2 separate regions of the Homo sapiens genome follow, and region 2 is linked to region 1. Evidence: promoter capture Hi-C in 16 types of primary human blood cells and fetal thymus (Javierre and others, 2016). All regions are on one chromosome and are shown on one strand. Each heading gives the region's core, a stretch centred on a gene start or on the middle of the fragment in contact. The rest is flanking DNA. Distances are from core to core; before and after follow the strand shown.

Region 1 (4,942 bases), core at 1,183-3,682:
AACAAACCTGAACTCTTCATATGGAGTTTGTTATCTTGTCAGCAAGAAAGCAAATGAAACGGCAATAAACTAAACTTTTTGCTTTAAAAAGAAAAAAAAAATCTCAAACATGAAATATTCCCTGTACTTGTATTGGAAAATGATTTCTTTTTAAAACAAAATATTGTGAAGATACTGTGAAAAGAAAATACTGTGATTTTTAAAGACACTTGAAAACATCTAAGCACACACAAAATGTAAATATGAACTTTGTAAGTAGCCCTTACAAACATACACTTAGAACTTTTAGTCTAAAATATGATAAAATGATAAAGCTTACATATTATTCAATAAATCTGGAACTGACTAGCCATTTACAAAATATTTCATATTTTAAACCAAGAATGAATTTTAGGTAGACTAAAGGCAAAAAAATAAAACCATGAAACGATGAGACGCAAACATGAATTTCTTTTTTTTTTTTTTTGAGATGGAGTCTCACTCTGTTGCCCAGGCTGGAGCGCAGTGGCACGACCTCGGCTCACTGCAACCTTCGCCTCCTGGGCTCAAGCGATTCTCCTGCCTCAGCCTCCCAAGTAGCTGGGACTACAGGAGCGCGCCACCATGCTTGGCTAATGTGTTTTTTTGTATTTTTTTAGTTGAATCCGGGTTTCACCACGTTGGCCAGGCTGGTCTAGAACTCCTGACCTCAAGTGATCCGCCCGCCTCGGCCTCCCAAAGTGCTGGGATTACAGGCATGAGCCATCGCGCCAGGCTGGAATTTTTTTTTATGACAAAGAGACAGAAAAATTGTCCAAATATGTCAAAGGAAAACAAATACTATGTATTCTTAAAAATTGAACGTTACGGCCGGACACGGTGGCTCACGCCTATAATCCCAGCACTTTGGAACGCCGAGCCAGGCGGATCACCTGAGGTCAGGAGTTCGAGACCAACCTGGTCAACTGGGCGAAACCCTGTCTCTACTAAAAATACAAAAATTAGCCGGGCGTGGTGGGTGCCTGTAATCTCAGCTACTCGGGAGACTAAAGCAGGAGAATCGCTCGAACCCGGGAGGCTAAGGTTGCAGTTAATCTAGATCCCGCCACTGCACTCCAGCCTGGGTGACAGAGGGAGACTGTCTCAAAAAAAAACAAATAAAGTTACCTTTGACCCCATTTGTAAATTTATTCTAAGATAACAATCAGACCAGGTGTAATATCTCACACTTGTAATCCCAACACTTTGGAAGGCGAAGGCGTGAGGGTCGCTTGAGGCCAGAAGTTTTGAGACCAGCCTGGGCAACAGTCTCTTATTAAAAAAAAAAAAAAAAGACCATATCAAACAAATCCTTCCGGCAGAATTGTTTATCTTGTGACAAATTGGAAACTATCTCAATGCTCATCGGTGGTTAAATCACATACTGTAAAGTCCATAAAAATAACAATACCTATCTGTATTTATTGATTATCACCAAAATGTTAGCAGTGGTTGTCACTGAATGGTAGACTGGCAGATGACTGTCATTTTCTACCTTAAGACTTTTTGTGTCGTCTTGAGTGTTTTGCCAGGAAAGGAGAATTAACTGCTTTTATAATGGGGATGAGGGACCAGAACAAGGTATTTTCAAACTGGAGGCCCCCAAAGCTGAGTCTCTGGAAAATTTCTAAAAAGTCTAAACAAAATTCTTATCATGCCAACCAGGCACGCTTCTTTCCTCGCACCGCGCGGCGCAGAAAGACACACCCCTGACTCTGCGCTCGTCCCTCGGGCTCGGGTCCTCCACGCTCAGCCCCGGCCCTCCCGGTCCCCGCGGACCCTCCCCTCGGGCCCAATGCGCCAGCTGGCTCCGCAGGGCCGGAAAAGCGCGTTCCTCGGCAGCCTGGCGCCGCCGGGAAGGTGCGCGCAGCCCGCCCGGCAGCCCCGGGATGGCGTGAGGGCCGCCTCCCCGGCTAGCCCCAGCGGACCCCTGCCGCCAGCAGGCCGCCCTCCCTCCGCGGGCTTCCGGGAGCGGGTCCTGGCGCCAGCGCGACCTCCCGGGCCCCGGCGAACCGAGGGAGCGTCCCCTTTCCCCGCCTGACGGGCGCCGACCCGCCCCTGCGGTGCCGCGGCCGCCGAGTCTCCGACGCGCCCCCAGGTCCCGGGTTCGCGCCAGGAGGCCCCTCCGGGCTTCCGTCGGCCGGCCAGCGCCCGCAAAGCCCGGCGTCCTCCACAGCGGGCGGGCAAGGGGCGGGAGCCCACGGCCCCGCGCCCTGCGGCCCCGAGCGGAGCGGCGCCCCGCGGGCCCGTCTCGCCGTCTGCCCTGGCTGCGGCCCGCGGCCCCGCTGCCCACCGCCCACCGCCCGACCCCGCCCGCCAGCCCCCGCCTGCGCCCGCCGCGCCCGCTCCTCACCTGCGACGCGCCCCGGCCCCCAGCGCACCGCCTTGGACCGGCTGTGTACACCGGAAGTTACGTCTCCGGTCCGGCCCCGCCCCCGCCTCGGGCGGACGCGGGGAGGTTGCGGATCCCGCGCCTAGAGCGGACTCTCCTCTCGCATTAGAGGGGAGGGGGCGCCCCGGAGCCTCCTCTCCTGGGACCCTGGGCCCCCAAGCGGGACGGCCGGGGCGGAGGTTGAGGACTGGCGGCCAGAGCCGGAGGTCCACCCAGATCCCCCACCATGGCTTGGCCCCCGGGCGGGAGGGGTCGGGCTGCGTCCTCCTGGATTTATTACTGAAATTGACTGAAATCGATTACTGGCGTATGGAGTGTTTCCTAGATGCCAGGCCCCGACGGGCACTGCAGGAACGGGTAGTGCTCTCTCCCTCATAAGTTTATTCCTTAGTGGTAAATACACAATACCATTGTCACATATCCGGGTGATAATATAGTACCAATGGTGACAAGTGGTAGGAGGGGAAAGAGTAAGAGGGAGGGAGAGAGTACCCTGACCTAGTAAAGGAGAGTGATCCGGAATTCCCCCAGGGAAAGAGCAGGAGCTGAGGTCCTAAGGGGTAGAAGGGAGAAAAAAAAAAAAAAAAACGAGAAGGGAGGAGAACACATTACGCAGAAGCAGCAGCAAGGGTCTTCCAGTTCTGTGGGTTTTGTTTGTTTGAGACGGAGTCTTGCTCTATCGCCCAGGCTGGAGTGCAGTGACGTGATCTTGGCTCGCTGCAACCTCCACCTCCCGGGTTCAAGTGATTCTCCTGCCTCAGCCTCCCGGATAGCTGCGATTACAAGCGTGCGCCACCACGCCCGGCTAATTTTTGTGTTATTAGTAGAGACGGGATTTCCCCATGTTGGCCACGCTGGTCTCAAACTCCTGACCTCAGGTGTTCCGCCCACCTCGGCCTCCCAAAGTGCTTGAGCCACGGAGCATGGCCCAGTTTTGTGTTCCAATAATAAATCAGAGTGGTGAGAAGTTAGGTCTTACTTGACAGTGTTGCAAAACTAATGAGTTTTAAGCAAGAGGTGATTTGTCCATACTTGAGAGTGTAAAGGGGTTACTCTAGATGCAGTGTGGAGAAGGAAGGACTACGGAGGGGAGGCAAGAGTGGATATAAATGTGTACACCCATGTTCATATTAGTCAGAAGGTGGAAGCAACCCAATGTCCATCCACGGGTGAATGGGTTCACAAAATGTGGTATAAACATAACAATAGAATATTACTCAGCGTTGAAGGAGGCCGGGCGCCGTGGCTTACGCCTGTAATCCCAGCACTTTGGGAGGCCAAGGCGCGTGGATCACCTGAGGTCAGGAGTTCGAGACCAGCCTGACCAACATGATGAAACCCCGTCTCTACTAAAAATACAAAATCAGCCAGGCGTGGTGGCGCATGCCTATAATCCCAGCTACGATGCAAATAGATGAGCTTTGAAGATATTATGCCAAAAGAAACCAGTCACAAAGACAAATATCCTATGATTCCACTTACATAAGGTACCTAGAGTAGTCAAAAACATAGAGACGGGCCAGGCATGGTGGCTCATGCCTGTAATCCCAGCACTATGGGAGGCTGAGGCAGGAGGATCACCTGAGGTCAGGAGCTCCAGACCAGCCTGGCCAACATGGTGAAATCCCATCTGTACTAAAAATACAAAAAGTTAGCCAGGCGTGGTGGTGGAGGCCTATAATCCCAGCTACTTGGAAGGTCGAAGCAGGAGAACAACTTGAACCTGGGAGGCAGAGGTTGCAGTGAGCTGAGATTACGCCACTGTATTCCAGCCTTGGCGATGAAGCGAGAATCTATCTCAAAAAAAAAAAAAAAAGAGGCCGGGTGCAGTGGTTCACGCCTGTAATCCCAACACTTTGGGAGGCCGAGGTGGGCGGATCATGAGGTCAGGAGATCGAGACCATCCTGGCTAACATGGTGAAATCCCATCTGTACTAAAAATACAAAAAGTTAGCCAGGCGTGGTGGTGGAGGCCTATAATCCCAGCTACTTGGAAGGCCGAAGCAGGAGAACAACTTGAACCTGGGAGGCAGAGGTTGCAGTGAGCTGAGATTACGCCACTGTATTCCAGCCTTGGCGATGAAGCGAGAATCTATCTCAAAAAAAAAAAAAAAAGAGGCCGGGTGCAGTGGTTCACGCCTGTAATCCCAACACTTTGGGAGGCCGAGGTGGGCGGATCATGAGGTCAGGAGATCGAGACCATCCTGGCTAACATGGTGAAACCCCGTCTCTACTAAAAATACAACAAAAAATTAGCCGGGCGTGGTGGTGGACGCCTGTATTCCCAGCTACTCTGGAGGCTGAGGCAGGAGAACTGTGTGAACCCGGGAGGCAGAGCTTGCAGTGAGCCGAGATTGCGCCACTGCACTCCAGCCTGGGTGACAGAGCGAGACTCCATCTCAAAAAAAAAAAAAAAAAAGAAAGAAATGTAGAAGTTCTAATATTTTCTCCCAGTATCCCAATGGATTGCCTTCCCATACTATGGGGTACATGAACCTCCCTTTGAAAACCATTCATGGACTATGGTAGTGG
Region 2 (4,942 bases), core at 683-3,182, 64 kb before region 1:
GTCTGCCAAACACTCCTGCTCGCCTGCCTCGCTGCCTGGCTGGCCACTTACCCTCCCCAGACAGCTCCACCCCGTCTTTCCTGACTTGGGTGCCAGCCTCTTCTCACTGGTCCCCCATCTTAGAAGCTTTCCTGCAGCACTACCGTTCAGAGACAGGGCCCTCCCTTCCTCTGGCTCCCGCATATCTCCATCCTGGCCCCTTAGCCCTGTTTTTGTAAGCCTATTCTCCCAGGAGGCTGTGAGTAGAGGTTGTCATCCTAGTGCCTGGCACATGCCTGGCACAAAGTGGGCATTCACAAAGATGTTCACTGTTAAATGAATGAACAAGCCAATGATAACAGTTTAAAATGTACATTTCTAAATGAAATGGCTGTTTTGAGAATCAACAGGCAAAGGCCCTCTGGAGCCTCTCCTATTTGAACACAGGCACCAATCTCCCCAAAGCCAGGGTTACCTCAGCAGCCCCCCGCCAGGACCGCACAGCTTCCTCTACTTCAGGTGTGTGGCCCATGCCAGATAAGCCGCCGCCACTGCCGCTGTTCTTTTTTTCTGGCACGATGACCTCAGCAAAGCAAGAGTGAGCCACCGGCTGGACCTTCTGTAACGCATGAGTCAAAAACTGGAAATGGACTTGCACCACAGTCAGGAAACATCGCCCCAACACCTGTGAAAACAAGACAGCCAGGGATGTTTAGGTTGTGGGTTGCTGTTGGATTCGCGCAGTAAATTTTCAATGACCAACTTGAATAGAAGCAATAGTTAACTGGAAATCCAAAATCATACAAAGTTAAAAGGCCACCATGCTTCAGAAGGATCTGCCTTTGTTTTTGTGTTTGGACCTCGGTGACTGATGCCTGGAAGTCAAAACATTTCCATCAAATAACAAGGCCCAAGGTTGAAATAATTCTTCCCATTTCCCACCAAGTAACCCCCAATCCTGTCTCCACCCCCTATATCTGGACTCACACCACTTCTGGTGTCTTTGAGCTCCTGCTGAACCACAGCCATCCACAACAGCAATTACGTCCATACAGTATTCAGAAGGTAAAGGAAAAACCATGCAACTAAAAATCTGAAAGAAGGCCAGTTTGACCATAAGACATTCCGTTGAAAATGGAATCCAAATATACCGGTTATTTTAGTAGGAGTGTTAACATAGTTATTAACATAGTTGTATGTCATCATTCCAGTCTTAGGAAACAAAGCTGACAGACCAGTCTTCCAGGAGTCAAGAAAATATAATGGACAGCTCCACTCATGAGTACAGTAGAAACCCATTAACCTGATATATATCAGTGATTGGTTGCTAATAGTCCAAGTAGGAAATTAACTTAAAAAATACTATACACATGAATATGTAATTATAATAAGATGTATACTAAATATATACTATGTGCCACAAACATTTTCAGATATGATTGTGCATTTCTCTGGCAGCCTTCTGGTATGGGCTAAGGCTGTTCTGACAGCTCCTTTGCTGCTCCTCCCTGTTACTTTCTTGCATAAACCACAGTTACAATGTGTTCTCTATCATTTCTTATTTATCTTTTTTTTTTGAAATGGAGTCTCGCTCTGTCACCCAGGCTGGAGTGCAGTGGCGTGATCTCGGCTCACTGCAACCTCCACATCCTGGGTTTAAGCGATTCTCTGACCTCGGTGCACTATCACACCCGGCTAATTTTTGTATTTTTAGTGGAGACGGGGTTTCACCATGTTGGCCAGGCTGGTCTTGAATTCCTGACCTCAGGTGATCCACCTGCCTCGGCCTCCCAAAGGGCTGGGATTACAGGCATGAGCTCCCATGCCCGGCCTTATTTCCTCTTTAACACAGGGCAAAAACTGGCCACTTACAAAGCAACTTGACCACAAACCTTCCAGATTATTGACATTTTTTCCTAATTTCTCATAGTTGTTTTGCCCACATCAGATTTGGCAATAATACCAACAAAAACCTTTTGCAGCTCTTTTATCCTGCTCCCTAATAATTTTTTGTGGAAGATATTTTATATTTCTTTGGCTTATGCAGATTACTTATTCACAACAACTTACTTTATTGAGTTTGCAATTCACCCAGCTGAGCAGGAGTGGACCTGAGAGAGCCTACTCACAGCCGGCCCTCAGCCCACTGCCTCACGCAAGTGGTGAAGGTCAGGGAACTATAGCCATTGCTTTTTACAAGGAACCAAAATCCAGCACAGTGCCCATGCACTGTCCTGTCCCTTGAGCAGCACACAGTAAGACTCAACCTTCCTCTCCCCTCAGGTGCACACGTGGACTCTCTGCCTTGTGGCACGCATGTGGACCTCTCGCCTTGCCTCGCCTCAGCATCTACCTTTGCCACACGCCCTCTCAGTTCCCAAGAGTCAGAGCTGTTTCTTCTTGGAGAAGCAGGGGCAAGCCAGTTCCCAGCAAGACACTTATTATCTCCGAATCCCTCCTCACCCTGTGGAAATCACCAGGACCAAACTAAAGCAAACAAAAAACCGCACACAAATCTCACACCAAAGCACTTGCCCTCCAGAGGGAACAACAACCGACATCACAGGCTGAAGCCCCCCAAACTCCTGGGCTTCCACTCACACCTCCTTCAGAGCCCTTCCCCCAGTGCTCTGTGCTAGACTGGGCAGGGTGAGGGACACGAAGGCAGCGCACCTAGGCCAGTTAGACAGGTGCCAGGAGTAGAATAAGCAGCAGCTATTTAGTCCTGTAGAGCACACAGACAGCTTTAGTGGAGCACACAGCCTGTACCTGACCAATGCTGGAGAGTCACATGGGCTAGCGCATTCAATCCCAGGAACCACCCTATGAGGTCATCCTCCCTTCATAGACAACAAGATCAAGGCATAGAAAGGCTACAAAATTTTGTCAACGGGACACAATCTGCATGTGGTGGACCAGTCACCTGACTCAAGTGTCCATGCCCTTCACCTGTGTGCCCCACTGCCTTCAGCAGACTCTAAACTGGCATCGGCTTGCATGTGACAGGAACTCCACCTTAACTGGTGTAGGCTGAGGGTTTCCTCAATCTCCCCACCCACTGCAGACACAGGGAGGGGGAGTGAGCCGGCTCCTCAGGGACACAAACTATTCCTCCCACTCCTTCCTCAGCACCTTGGCAGCTATGGGAAGCTGGAGGAGGAGGAAAAAGGGAAGACGCCATGCTCCATTAGCTCTGGGTTCACACTCTCACAGCTCTGATGGACACAACTTAGTCATTCATTCTCTCAATAAATATATAAGATGGGGATGCCTGATATGCACCAAGCACAAAGAGCTGGGAACACTACTGGAAAGAGAATGAGCAAGTCCCTGCTCTCGCCAGGGCGACATTCTAATGGGGAAGACAACAGGCAATGAACAGATATGCAAGGCCGGGTGCTGCTGGGAAAGGAACACAGACGGATGGGAAGGAAAAGGCTCCTCAAGGAAATGACCGAGGGCAAAGGGAGAGCTACCCTGTCCCCTCCCCTACTAAGGGGCAAAGTTCTGAGGAATGGCTGAAGGCCTGAAGGAGGGCCCCCAGATCAAGAACAGGATGCTCTCTGACAAGGCCATCACCCCTGGGGAGAATGAGGTGGAGGAAGCCCTCTTGCTGTGGGGTGGCAGTAAGGAGGGCAGAACCCTGCTGTAGGAAGGAGTGGGGGAAGAGACACAGGTCAGTTTAAAAGGCATTGTCTGTGTTGTCTCCACCACTTAGGATGTGTTTGACCTTGGATGAGTCATTTAACCTAAGCTTCTTTCCTATAAATAAGGAATGAGGACAACAGCTCAGCTACTGTACACCTCCCTCTCCTACCCAGGATGCCTGGAGACCAACTCAGTCATACAAATTATGATTGTAACAAAATATCTGTGTTGTAAATAACTTATTCAAAGCCAATCAAACCAATGGTTAACGCTGGACCTTGGAAACAGCTGTTTCATCAGATATCTGCTCTAAAAATTTACCCAGAGTAACAGATGCATAACCACCACCTTCTCTTGAGAGAGTACAGAGCTCAACCTCCAGCCTGCCTCTGCCCACCTTTCCCCTCCGAGGATCTCAGGTCTTAGCTCAGCTCCTCTCCTGAAACAGACCCCACTCTCCTTGACCCAGGAATGAGCCAGTCTTTGGGCGTCTTCCTGACATAAGTTTGGGAGAGTGTGACCCCAGGGCTGTGGAAAGCTATTTTCTCCTTCACATGGAGAAAGTTTCCTGGACTGTGTGGTTCAGTCAAATTGCAGAACACATGGGGGAAGCTGGGGAGTGGATGAGCAGAGTGGCCAAAGGCAGGTTTTTAAGTTTAAAATGCCAGTGAAGCTCTATCAACAGCTACCATTTATTGAGTGTTTAAATACCAAGCACCTTATGTTTGGTGAACCATCCCTGTGGGGTGTGAGCAATTCACCCATTTTACGGATGATAACACTGAAGTTTACAGAGATAAAGAAACTTGCTCAATGTCAAGCAGGTAATAAGTAGGGATCTGACACCAGGTCTGTTTGACTCCGAAAACTGTGTTGCTAACCACCAGGCTACTCTTTCTACCTATGACAAGATCCAGAATGAAGCCACAATAGTGGATAAATACTAATCAGAGAAGGAGCTATGGATTACAGACAGCTATCGGGGTCTACTGAATGAGAGCCTGTTTTCTAGCAACCCTTGATGGTGGAGGAGAAGGGTGCATCTTTACCTTCCTATTCCCTTGCACACACACAACATCTGCTGCTAAGGATGTTGTATTCATGTACATAACCAGAATACCTTTTCTTTTTGATGATATTTATATTTTATTCAGATTGTAAAACAGATTTTAATTTAAGGCCTTCCCATTTGGAGCACCAAAAAACTACCCTTTTTTTTTTTTTTTTTTTTTTGAGACAGAGTCTTGCTCTGTTGCCCAGGCTGGAGTGCAGTGGCACAATCTTGGCTCACTGCAAGCTTTGCCTCGCGGGTTCA

Evidence for each region. Contacts are between HindIII fragments. The CHiCAGO score rates a contact against its expected background, and 5 or more counts as called.
Region 2: a contact is called between a fragment that was not itself captured here and the fragment with the promoter of GARRE1 in region 1, in 7 of 17 cell types (naive CD4 T cells, naive CD8 T cells, naive B cells and 4 more). The highest score is 8.7, in naive CD4 T cells.

Annotation. Positions count from the first base shown.
Region 1 is chr19:34,252,044-34,256,985 of GRCh38, reverse strand. It overlaps GARRE1 (granule associated Rac and RHOG effector 1), which reads right to left and starts at 2,432. Exons shown (of 14, transcript NM_014686.5): 1 at 2,372-2,432. RefSeq lists an enhancer at 1,614-2,135. The HindIII fragment of the contact is 8,095 bases long and covers 317-4,942 here.
Region 2 is chr19:34,315,629-34,320,570 of GRCh38, reverse strand. GARRE1 (granule associated Rac and RHOG effector 1) reads right to left here. Exons shown (of 14, transcript NM_014686.5): 3 at 455-664. Among named protein-coding and RNA genes, the nearest start is that of GPI, 47 kb to the left of the region's middle. RefSeq lists an enhancer at 493-787. The HindIII fragment of the contact is 3,607 bases long and covers 129-3,735 here.